2 separate regions of the Homo sapiens genome follow, and region 2 is linked to region 1. Evidence: promoter capture Hi-C in 16 types of primary human blood cells and fetal thymus (Javierre and others, 2016). All regions are on one chromosome and are shown on one strand. Each heading gives the region's core, a stretch centred on a gene start or on the middle of the fragment in contact. The rest is flanking DNA. Distances are from core to core; before and after follow the strand shown.

What was found. The method cuts DNA at HindIII sites, captures the fragments that hold promoters and counts their contacts. A CHiCAGO score of 5 or more calls a contact.
Region 2: a fragment that was not itself captured here is called in contact with the fragment with the promoter of CDCA5 in region 1 in 1 of 17 cell types (endothelial precursors); the score reaches 5.1 in endothelial precursors.

The regions. Positions count from the first base shown.
Region 1 is chr11:65,080,938-65,085,658 of GRCh38, forward strand. CDCA5 (cell division cycle associated 5) reads right to left here and starts at 3,103. Exons shown (of 6, transcript NM_080668.4): 1 at 2,996-3,103; 2 at 2,692-2,786; 3 at 2,548-2,613; 4 at 2,427-2,462. The coding sequence starts at 3,041. ZFPL1 (zinc finger protein like 1) reads left to right here and starts at 3,285. Exons shown (of 8, transcript NM_006782.4): 1 at 3,285-3,441; 2 at 3,754-3,863; 3 at 4,178-4,289. The coding sequence starts at 3,762. RefSeq lists enhancers at 2,835-3,064, 3,145-3,414, 4,004-4,588. The HindIII fragment of the contact is 9,431 bases long and covers 1-4,562 here.
Region 2 is chr11:64,890,496-64,895,527 of GRCh38, forward strand. It overlaps MIR194-2HG (MIR194-2 host gene), which reads right to left and starts at 2,954. Exons shown (of 3, transcript NR_133640.1): 1 at 2,916-2,954; 2 at 2,095-2,331. It overlaps ATG2A (autophagy related 2A), which reads right to left. Exons shown (of 41, transcript NM_015104.3): 40 at 4,795-4,947; 41 at 4,051-4,714. The coding sequence ends at 4,478. It overlaps MIR192 (microRNA 192), which reads right to left and starts at 751; the gene lies at 642-751. It overlaps MIR194-2 (microRNA 194-2), which reads right to left and starts at 944; the gene lies at 860-944. The HindIII fragment of the contact is 935 bases long and covers 2,327-3,261 here.

The sequences.
Region 1 (4,721 bases), core at 1,853-4,352:
ACATCCCTCACTGAGGTGACATTCAAGCTACAACTTGAAGGAGGTGTGGGAGTGACTCATGGCCAAGTTCTAGGCAGTGGGAACAGAAGGTGCAACAACCCTGAGGCCACAGTGTACTAGTCAGGGTCAAACAACAAGGAGGCCAGTGTGGCTGAAGTGAAGGCAAGAGGAAGAAACTGAAGATGAAGTTCAAGAGATAATGGGTGGCCAGATATGGTGGTTCACACCTATAATCCCAGCACTTTGGGAGGCTGAGGTGGGTGGATCACCTGAGGTCAGGAGTTTGAGACCAGCCTGGCCAACATAGTGAAACCCCATCTCTACTGAAAATACAAAAAAAATTAGCCAGGTGTGGTAGCAGGTGCCTGTAAGCCCAGCTACTTGGGAGGCTGAGGCAGGAGAATCGGTTGAACCTGGGAGGCGGAGGTTGCAGTGAGCCGAGATTGCGCCACTGCACTCCAGCCTGGGTGACAGTGCGAGACTCCATCTCAAAAAAAAAAAACACAGGGAAGCTGAACAAATTGGTGGTCACTGCTGACTACGACTTCCTCATTCTCTATAGCCAAGCAGTCACCCAGGTCCTGGCAACTTTATCCTGCTCGATGTACCATGAATCTCAGTCAATCAACAAGAATGAGTGGCTACTAGGAAAGGCAGAAGTCCCTACCCTCAAGGTGCCTGTGTTCTTAGAGGGGGGAGAGAAAGACATCAAACATGCAAGAAAATACACTATAAGAACTGATAAGGACCAGGCACAGTGGCTCATGCCTGTAATCCCAACACTTTAGGAGGCCAAGGTGGGAGGATCACTTGAGCCCAGGAGTTCAAGACCGGCCTGGGCAACATAGTGAACCCTCATCTCTATAAAAAAAATTAGAGAAAACATCAAAAAATTAGCCAGGCATGGTGGCATGTGACTATAGTCCCAGCTACTTGAGAGGCTGAGGAGGGAAGATCTGCAGTGAGCCGAAATCTCGCCACTGCACTCCAGCCTGGGTGGCAGAACAAGACCCTATCTTTAGAACTGGTAAGGCCTAAGAGAATTACATAGAGAAATGTGACAGCAATAGGGTAAGGGTGGTCAGGGAAGGCCACTGGGGGGCAATTCCCTCTGAACCCAGTACTGTATATCATCCTGGCTTTAGCTCACGCCCTTGGCTTCATGCTTCAGAATTCCTGGACTTCACGTCATTCCACTGGTCTTGGAGCCCCAGGGTAGCCCTTCTCAAAACCATTCTCCCCACAGCCCCCAGAGGGGTCTTTCTTAAAACACTCAAACTTGACTCGGTCACTACCTTACCCAGAACTCTCCAAAGGCTGCCCACAGACCCAAGAATGATGCCCAAGCCATGAGTGTGGCTTTTGTGCCTCATCAGGATCTGCTCTGCCTTAGGGTGCTTCCTCCCCTGCTGAGGTCTGCTGCAGACACTAAACAAATTGCTATTCCCCGAACCTTGATTTTTCTTTAAATTCCCAATCTCTGCAAACATGGCTTCTTTGACCTGGAACAAACCTACTTGTCTTTTTTTTTTTTTTTTTTTTTGAGATGGAGTCTCGCTTTGTCACCCAGGCTGGAGTGCAGGGGCGTGATCTCGGCCCACTGCAACCTCCGCCTCCTGGGTTTAAGCGATTCTCCTGCCTCAGCCTCCTGAGTAGCTGGGACTATAGGCACGTGCCACCATGCCTGGCTAATTTTGTATTTTTAGTAGACACAGGGTTTCACCACGTTGGCCAGGCTGGTCTTAAACTCTTGACCACAAGTGATCTGCCCGCCTCAGCCTCCCAAAATGCTAGGATCACAAGCGTGAGCCACTGCACCCGGCCTCTACTTGTCTTTAAAGACTCAGTTCAAATGTTTCTTCTTCCACGAAACATTCCCTGAGCCACATGGTCTGGGTTAGCTACCATCATAGCATCTAGTATTCCTTATTGCAGTCCCAGTACACAACGTTGCTATCACTTGTCATTGGTCTTTCTCCCCAGTTGACTCTAAGCCCTATCAGCTCTTCAAAGGAGTTCACATTTCTCAGTCAGTATGTCTTCAGATTGTCTATTAATGAAACATCCTTTGATAATAACTTCTGCTAAAACTGTAAAAATGTCATACACATGACTTATCTCAGAACACCCATACATGAAAGCTGAAGGCATAATGGATTAGAAAGGCAGTACGTGGAGTTAAGACATAGCTCAGCTTTTAAAGGAAGTTCCAGGAAAATGGTAGAAATACACAAGGCATAAAAAGTTAAGTGTATTAAGTCTTCAGGGAGTAATCAAGACTGGCAATGCATGCAGGTGCCCACAGGCAAACTGTTTTTGCAGTACTGCAAAACAGCTCCCTGGGCAGATGTGAGGAGCCAATGTGTGCTGTCCAGCTCTAGAGTGACCCAGATTCTACTTAATTAAGTAGATGAAAGTGAACTCACCCTAGGGCTCCTGCGAGGTGATTGGACAGCTGGGACCTGCGGGGGACAATACCAATTGATCACATAGCTGGTCCCCAGTTTTGCCCGCCTAACCACCCACAACACTCTCCTTAGCCTTTACCTCTACAGCATGGGCCACGATCCTCTTTAAGACGATGGGCTTTCTGACTGCAGCCGCACTGGGTGTCTGGAGAAGAGGGATGAACGTGAGCTCAACATTAGGTGAGGGGCCACAAGGGGAGGAAGTGAGAAATCTGGGGCTCACCTTCGGCCAGATTTCAGGGAGGATGCTCGGGAGTTCAGAGCCTGATTTCCGCTGGGACCTCCGCAGAGGCTTAGTAGGAGATGGGGCCCTTGGCCCTGGAAAGAGAAAAAAGTTAAGTGGTAGAGGAGGACTCTAGACCTTAGAGTCCAGAGAACAGGTTCTAGAGACAGCGAGAAGATTCCCAAACAAGCCCTTTTAAGGGCGCCTCCTCCGGCGGCGGCAGCGGGAGGGAAGAGGCCATCTTTCACCGGACTGCGTCCCCCAAACGGCTCGACCTCACGTCTCCCGCGCGCCCTCCGCTCACCGGAGCGCTGAGCGGCTCCTCCGGACCGCGTTCGCCTCCCAGACATAACTTAGGCTCCGTCTCGAGCTCCTCCAGCGCCGCCGCCCCGGGCGCGCGCCAACCGGGAAGGCCACTCGCTGCAAAAAACGTTCGAATTACCCGCCCTGCGGGAAAGGAAGCGGAAGTGACGTAGGGCTAGCGGTCTGCGGCCCTCGGAACCCCGAGTCTTTTCCACCCGTCTTCACCTCTAGCGGCAGCGGAGGCGTGGCCCAGGGGCGCGATGGCGTCATCAGCGCGCGCCGCACCCGGAAGAGACGTGGCAGCGGAGGGATAATCGGGGCGGCCGGGGCTGAAGGGAGAGGCGCAGGAGCCCTGGGGAGAGTGGTCCCTGCCCTTCCGCGCCTCGAGCCATCGCTACCGCCCTTCGGAACCAGTGCAGCGGCCGATCAGTAAACACAGAGACTGGGGTCTGTAGAGAAGGGGCGGGACTTGGAGGGGGTGGGGCTCAGGAGAGGTCTTGGGGGCGGGGCCGGTAGTATCGGGGAGCCTCTGATGGAGGGGCCTGGCCGGGGGCGGGATCCAGAAGGATTGAGGGGTCGCCGGAGGCGGGATTTATGCAGGGGGTGTTTCTCCGCATAAGGAGGGACAGTGGGCAGGAATCTGAGATCGGGGCGAATATGAGAGGTGTCTGGGGGAGTTAAGAGTGGAAACTGGGCTGGTGAGAGCGTAGTGGTGGCCACCAGAACCTGACTTCCTACCAACTCATGCCCCTTTCCCAGGATCGATCATGGGGCTTTGTAAGTGCCCCAAGAGAAAGGTGACCAACCTGTTCTGCTTCGAACATCGGGTCAACGTCTGCGAGCACTGCCTGGTAGCCAATCACGCCAAGGTGGGGCCTTCAGGGGAGCGACTGAGCAGGGCACTGGGTGGGCAAGGCGGTATTGGCTTCCTCCAAATCCATGAGGGGCCCCGCGCTAGAATGTAAGCCCCACAAGGGCAAGGACTTGATTTATTTTGTTCACTGATATATCCCCCGTTCCCAAGAGAGAGTCTGGTGCACAGTATGTGCTCAATAAATATTTATTGATTAAACAAACGAAAGGATGAGTCTCCTCTGTGGCTAGAGAAAAAGAGACAGTCGGACCTTGGGGTGATAGGCCGAGCAGCCCCAGCACCAGTTGTGACATCTCTCTCCCACTCCAGTGCATCGTCCAGTCCTACCTGCAATGGCTCCAAGATAGCGACTACAACCCCAATTGCCGCCTGTGCAACATACCCCTGGCCAGCCGAGAGACGACCCGCCTTGTCTGCTATGGTGAGGCCTTGGCACCTCGGGGGGATCAGGCCAGCCTCAGGGGCCAGCTTGGTGACTGGTTTCCAGGCCCTCCTCAAGCAGCAGGACAGTGAGTCCCCCGAGTCTCAGAGCCCAGATTCTAGTCCTGTTAAAGTTCCTTACCTGCTGTGTAAGTTCAGGCAAGTTATTCTTCCTTTCTAGGCCTCACTGTCTTTCCTAAAAATTAAAGCTCCTAGTTCCTCTTTCCTAAAAATTAAGCCCTGCCAATCTGGAGGTTTCAGCGAGAACCAGTCAAGCTTACGGGTATGCTGGTGGCCGTGACTATTAGCTAGCCAGACCGGCATGTTGCTTTCAGATATTCAGGATCCACCACTGATTCCAAGGCTAAACAGAGAGGAAGTGAGTTTCCCACATTAAAGTTAGCTAAAAGAAGTCAGCAGACATATGTGTCAT
Region 2 (5,032 bases), core at 1,544-4,043, 190 kb before region 1:
AGGGCTGTGCTCCAGGGAGATGAGACTGGCAAAGGAGGGGAGAGTAGGAAGCAGATGGGGAGGCTGGCTCAGGGCCCCATCCTGGGTGGGGGGGCTCCAGCACAAACACTGGGCCTAGAGCACTCAGCCCCCCTTGGCCACACTGCATGTCGGTGGGTGCTTCCTCAGGGTGCAAGACAGAGGCTCAGGATTGGTTCAGCAAACATTTATTGGGCACGCGCCTGGGCTGGGAACTGAGCTCACAGATGGGGAGAGGAGCGAGACATAAGCAGAAACCAGCACCGGGGCTCCGAGAGGGCAGTGCTCTGCGGCAGCACTGTGTGGGGGTGCCCAGGTGGGGACTTAGAAGCTTCAATAAGGCCTTCTGGAGGCAGCAAATGCTTGGACAGAGCTTGAAAGGGTTAGTAAGAGTGAGCCTGGCAAATAAGCTAGGAAGAGTATTGCAGCCCAAGGGAACAGCATGGGCAAAGCATAGAGGTGCCACAGGGCAGGCAGGGCAGGGGCAGGACTGAAGCTGTTCAGGCTCATTCACGGGGAATGAGACAGAGGGAGGTGGGACCATGAGTGCTGCACTGGGGTCGCAGGATCTCTGCTGACTGCTGGACACCCCCGGCCCTCCCCTATCCCTGCAGGTCCTGGTGGCTGGCATTGAGGCGAACATACCTGTGACCTATGGAATTGGCAGCCAGAGGGGAGACGAGAGCACTGGCTGTCAATTCATAGGTCAGAGCCCTGTGCACTCGGTCTCGGCAGCCCACCGACAGCCCTCCACTACCCGCCACCATCTGGCCTGGGAGCGTCGCCACGGTAGTCCTGGCTGGTCTGCTGGCCAGCACCTGCCTCTCCTTCTTCGTGGGTACTGGCCCTCGCCCCAGATAACAGCAGCCCCACTGGAACCAGTGGGCACTTCCACATGGAGTTGCTGTTACAGGGGGCGGGAACCAATTGGAGACCGGGGCCCTGCCTGGCGTCCGCCTTCGGCAGGGCTCTGGAGAGTGTCCCATGCCCACTCACCTGGGCTCCCCAGTCTTCGTGGCCCCAGGTCCATGGTCTTTTCACCGAGGCTTCTTATCATCCGGGGCCCACACCTGGCGCCCCGTGTGCTGCCAGCACTCCTTCCTGGGCAAAGTCCAGGCTCAACCCCAAATCGGCCTCATAAAGCCGGGAGCGGCTCGGATTTACAACTCCTGGGCAGCCTTTGCCCGCTCTGATGACCCCACGCCCTCTGTCCCCAAGTTATTTTGTTTCCTTGTTTCTTTCCCAACCAGAGCTGGGCCTCAGTTTCAGGTTTGGCCACTGTCACCTCTGCCCTTTGCCCACCCTCCCTGCTGCAGCCATGGGGCAGAGAGACAGCAAGGGACAGCTGGCACTTGTCAGTCCCCAGGGACCTCCCAGTGCCTGATTTCATGAGGATGGCCTCGTATGGGAAGCTGAAGATGAGACTAAGAAGAAGTGTGGGGGGCTGTGTGGGGGAGGGCACAGAAAGAGGGATAGTGAGGCAGAGGGGCTGAGAGAGGAAGAGAAGAGTAAGGCCGAGGATGGCGGTGCACACCTGGCATCCCAGCACTTTGGGAGACCAAGGTGGGAGGATCTCTTGAGCCCAGGAGTGCAAGACCAGCCTGGGCAACACAGTGAGACCCCATCTCTACAAAAAATAAAAAATTAGCCTGGTGTGGTGATGCATGCCTGTGGTCCCAGCTACTCAAGAGGCTGAGGCGGGGGATCACTTGAGCCTGGGAGGTCGAGGCTCCAGTGAGCTGGGATTGTGCCACTGCACTCCAGCCTCAGTGACAAAGAAAGACCCTGTCTCAAATAAAAATAAGAGGAGCAGGTAGAGAACTAGAAAGGAACAGAGAAAACAAACAGGGATAGTGGATGACGAGGTGTAGGAAGGGGGACGACAGGGAACTGGAAAAGATGTAGATACACAAACCTGCCGCAGAACATGAGGAACAGGCTGTGAGCAGTGGCTCGCCTGGAAGGACGCTTAGGACCTCAGTGGCCTGGAAGACAGCAGGGGCCTGGGAGCTGGGTGACCTTGAGCAAGTAGCGTAACCTCTCTGAACCACTGTCCATATGTCAATCAGGACTTACGAGGCCACCCTGCACGCTGGGCTGGCCTGGTGGGAAGCATCCGCCCTGGGACCCTTGGGTCTCTCTCCGCTGTGGGGAGAGGAAGCAGCTGCTGGCCAGGGTCCCTGAGTGAGCCCAGGGCTCTGTGAGGCAGAGCTTCCTCTTGCAAAGCGTGTTCTCGTCCCTCCCAGACAGGTTCCGGTGACAGGTGCCAGTCCTGCAGAGACCCAGCAGGCATTTTGGGAGACTCCAAAGCTTCTGGAGAGAAAGGGGAGCTTTTAGAGTAGACTTGGGCCCTGCCCCCTTTGCCAGTGGTGCATACAGGCCTAGAGAGACAGAGGGGGCCGCCCAAGGTCACAGAGCAGGGCCCCAGGGCCTGTGCTGCCCCAACAACCTTCCCGAAGTGGCGTCCCCCCTTCTCAGGATGCAGTCAGGGTGGGATGGGGGATCCCTGGGCTGGAATCCTTCTGCCTGGGGGGACAGACCTGCGAAGGAAGACACCGTAGCTGGTGGCTGGCCCTCCACTCAGCCTGGCGGCCCTTCCCACAGAGGCCTGGGCGAGACCAGCCTCCTGCAGCGTGGTGTCCAAGTGCCCTGGCCTGGCAGAGACAGCGCCCGATCAGGAATCCTGGCTCCACAGCTCTGAGCGCTGATGCTAAGGCCCCCTTATCCCACAGTGGAAACCAAGGCACAGAGAGGAAGGGGCTCGTCCCGGCCACCCCATGGCTGTCCAGGTCCCTTTCTTCCTCAGGATTGGCCACCCTTCAGAGAGGTGCCTGGGTTCAGGAGCCTCCTAGGACAGGGAGGGCGGCAGGGGTCCTACCACTCAGGAAGCCTCTTACCTGAGTGCCGGGCTGGCCTTCGGGGCACAAGGAGGAAGTGGGGACACCCTGGGCCCAGGGCCTTTTGAGCCGTTGACCCAGCCCCTGGTGGTGGTTAATGATTATCCCACCACCGTCAATACTGATCACAAGTGCGGTTCGAAGGGCAGGAAGCCCTGGACTGTGCCCGGGCAGGGTGGGGCGGGTCCAGGAAGCATCAGGCTGGGCCCCATCTGCCTCTCCGGGTGGCATCAGCACCGAGTCTCCACAGCCCTGTCTCCTCCAGGGCCTCGCCCTCCTGGTCTCTTACCAGCCTGCTGCCCCAGCTGTCCGTGGGCAGCCAGGACCCCAGGGTCCCTCGGGACAAAGCTTCTGCTCTGTTCCCAGTACCCAGATCTCCCCCACTCAGAAGGGGCCACAGAGCAGGGCTGGGGGACCTTTGCTAACCCCAGAGGCCTGCGGAACCTAGCAAGGTGAGGGTTCCCTGATTCCCAACCCGAGCCTTGGTTTCCCCATGGACCCACCCACCTCTGTGCAGCGCCACTGGGAAGCAGGGCAGGGAGGAGCGCGATGGGAGCAGCTCACAAGAAACAAGATGTGTGGGGGGCAATGGGCGCTCCCTGGTCCTGTGTAAAGCTTTGTGCAGTGAGGGTTGGGATTCCGGCTGCAGCGCTGCTCCAGCACCCCTCCCCCCTCCAAGTGCTGGAGCTGGGACCCCAGATCAGAGTGGAAACCAAGGGGCCAAGGCCTGGGCCACCCCAAAAGCCCCCACTAGGGATGGTGAGAGCAACATCTAGAATGCCTCAGGCTCAGCCTTCCCCGAGTGGCCTCAAGTGACAACCAGGCAGGGTCAGCTGGGCTCCAAGGACCATCCCTCCCTCCCCTGGCAGCCCCACGTAGCTCCTGCCACATCAGGAGTGGGGCTGGAGTGGCAGCCTCCTGGGAGGGGCAAGGCAGAGCCCAGAGCCAGGGGAAGGCGTGCAGGGCTGGGTGCCTCTGGGTCCCCCTGTGCCCTGATCTGCTGGGCAAGGCCAGGAGGCATGGCGACCCCTGGTGGTGACATGGGAGGTGCTGGGTGCAGAGGTGGGATCTGGGGCGGGGCCAAGGTCAAGGCTGAGGCCAGGGTTCACAGGGACAGAGGATCTGAGAGGGGGGCTGGCGGTGGGCAGTTTATTCCACTTCATGCAGACACTGACCCACGCACTCACGGAGCTTAAAAATAATACATCGAACCACACGGATATCATCCCCTCCTCCCCCCAGACACAGAAAGACACTTGGCTGAGTGGGATGGGGTCCGAGGGTCCAAAAGCCTCCGTCCTGGGAGAAGGCAGCAGTGTGGGCCCAGGTCGGGGGAGGGGCAGTGTCCTTTCTCCCCGGAGGAAAAGTGCAGAGCCAGGGCTAAGGCCCCAAGGCAGGGAGGCCCCCCTCTCACAGCAGATTGGCAACGGGCAGGCTGGGAAGGCGTCCTTCACAGTGGCCATCCCCTGAAGGGCCAGGCCGGGCCGGGCCCGTGGGCTGCAGCTCTTGGGAGGCTCAGGAGCATGGTGGGCAGCACCCTCTGGGTGCCGGGCACCCCAGGCTCAGTCTTGGGCACTGTCCGAGCGCCACTTGAGGGCGTGGTCCTTGTGGGCGTCGGGGACAATCTGGTTGCGCATGCCCCCGAGCAGGCTGGACGTGGCCTCCGTGGCCAGGATGAGCGGCTTCACCACAGTCGGGGGCAGCTGGCGGATCACGCCCCCCACGGCGCCCGTCAGCCCCTTCTGCTCATGGCCCCGCGATGCCACGTCACAGATGGTCTGAGCTGTATCCAAGATGCCCTGTGGAAGCCAGAGGTCAGGGCGGGGTCTGTGTGAGGAGATGGGCATGGGGGACTGGGGCAGGGCGGGGGCCTGGTCACCTCTCGCACTGTGTCGTAGGCCTTGGCCACACCCTCCCGCAGGTCGGCAGGCTGCTGGCCCCTGCGCAGCCTCCGCGCAGAGCGCTTATCCTGCAGGGAGCGGGAGACGGGGGCTGCCGGGGACAGGATGTCATACACGGTCTCAGCTGTGGCCTGGGGGACATGGGAGCACTGGATGAGGACAGCTGGCTGGGGCACACGTCAGCCCCAGGCCCCCAGGACAGTCTGAGACCCCACC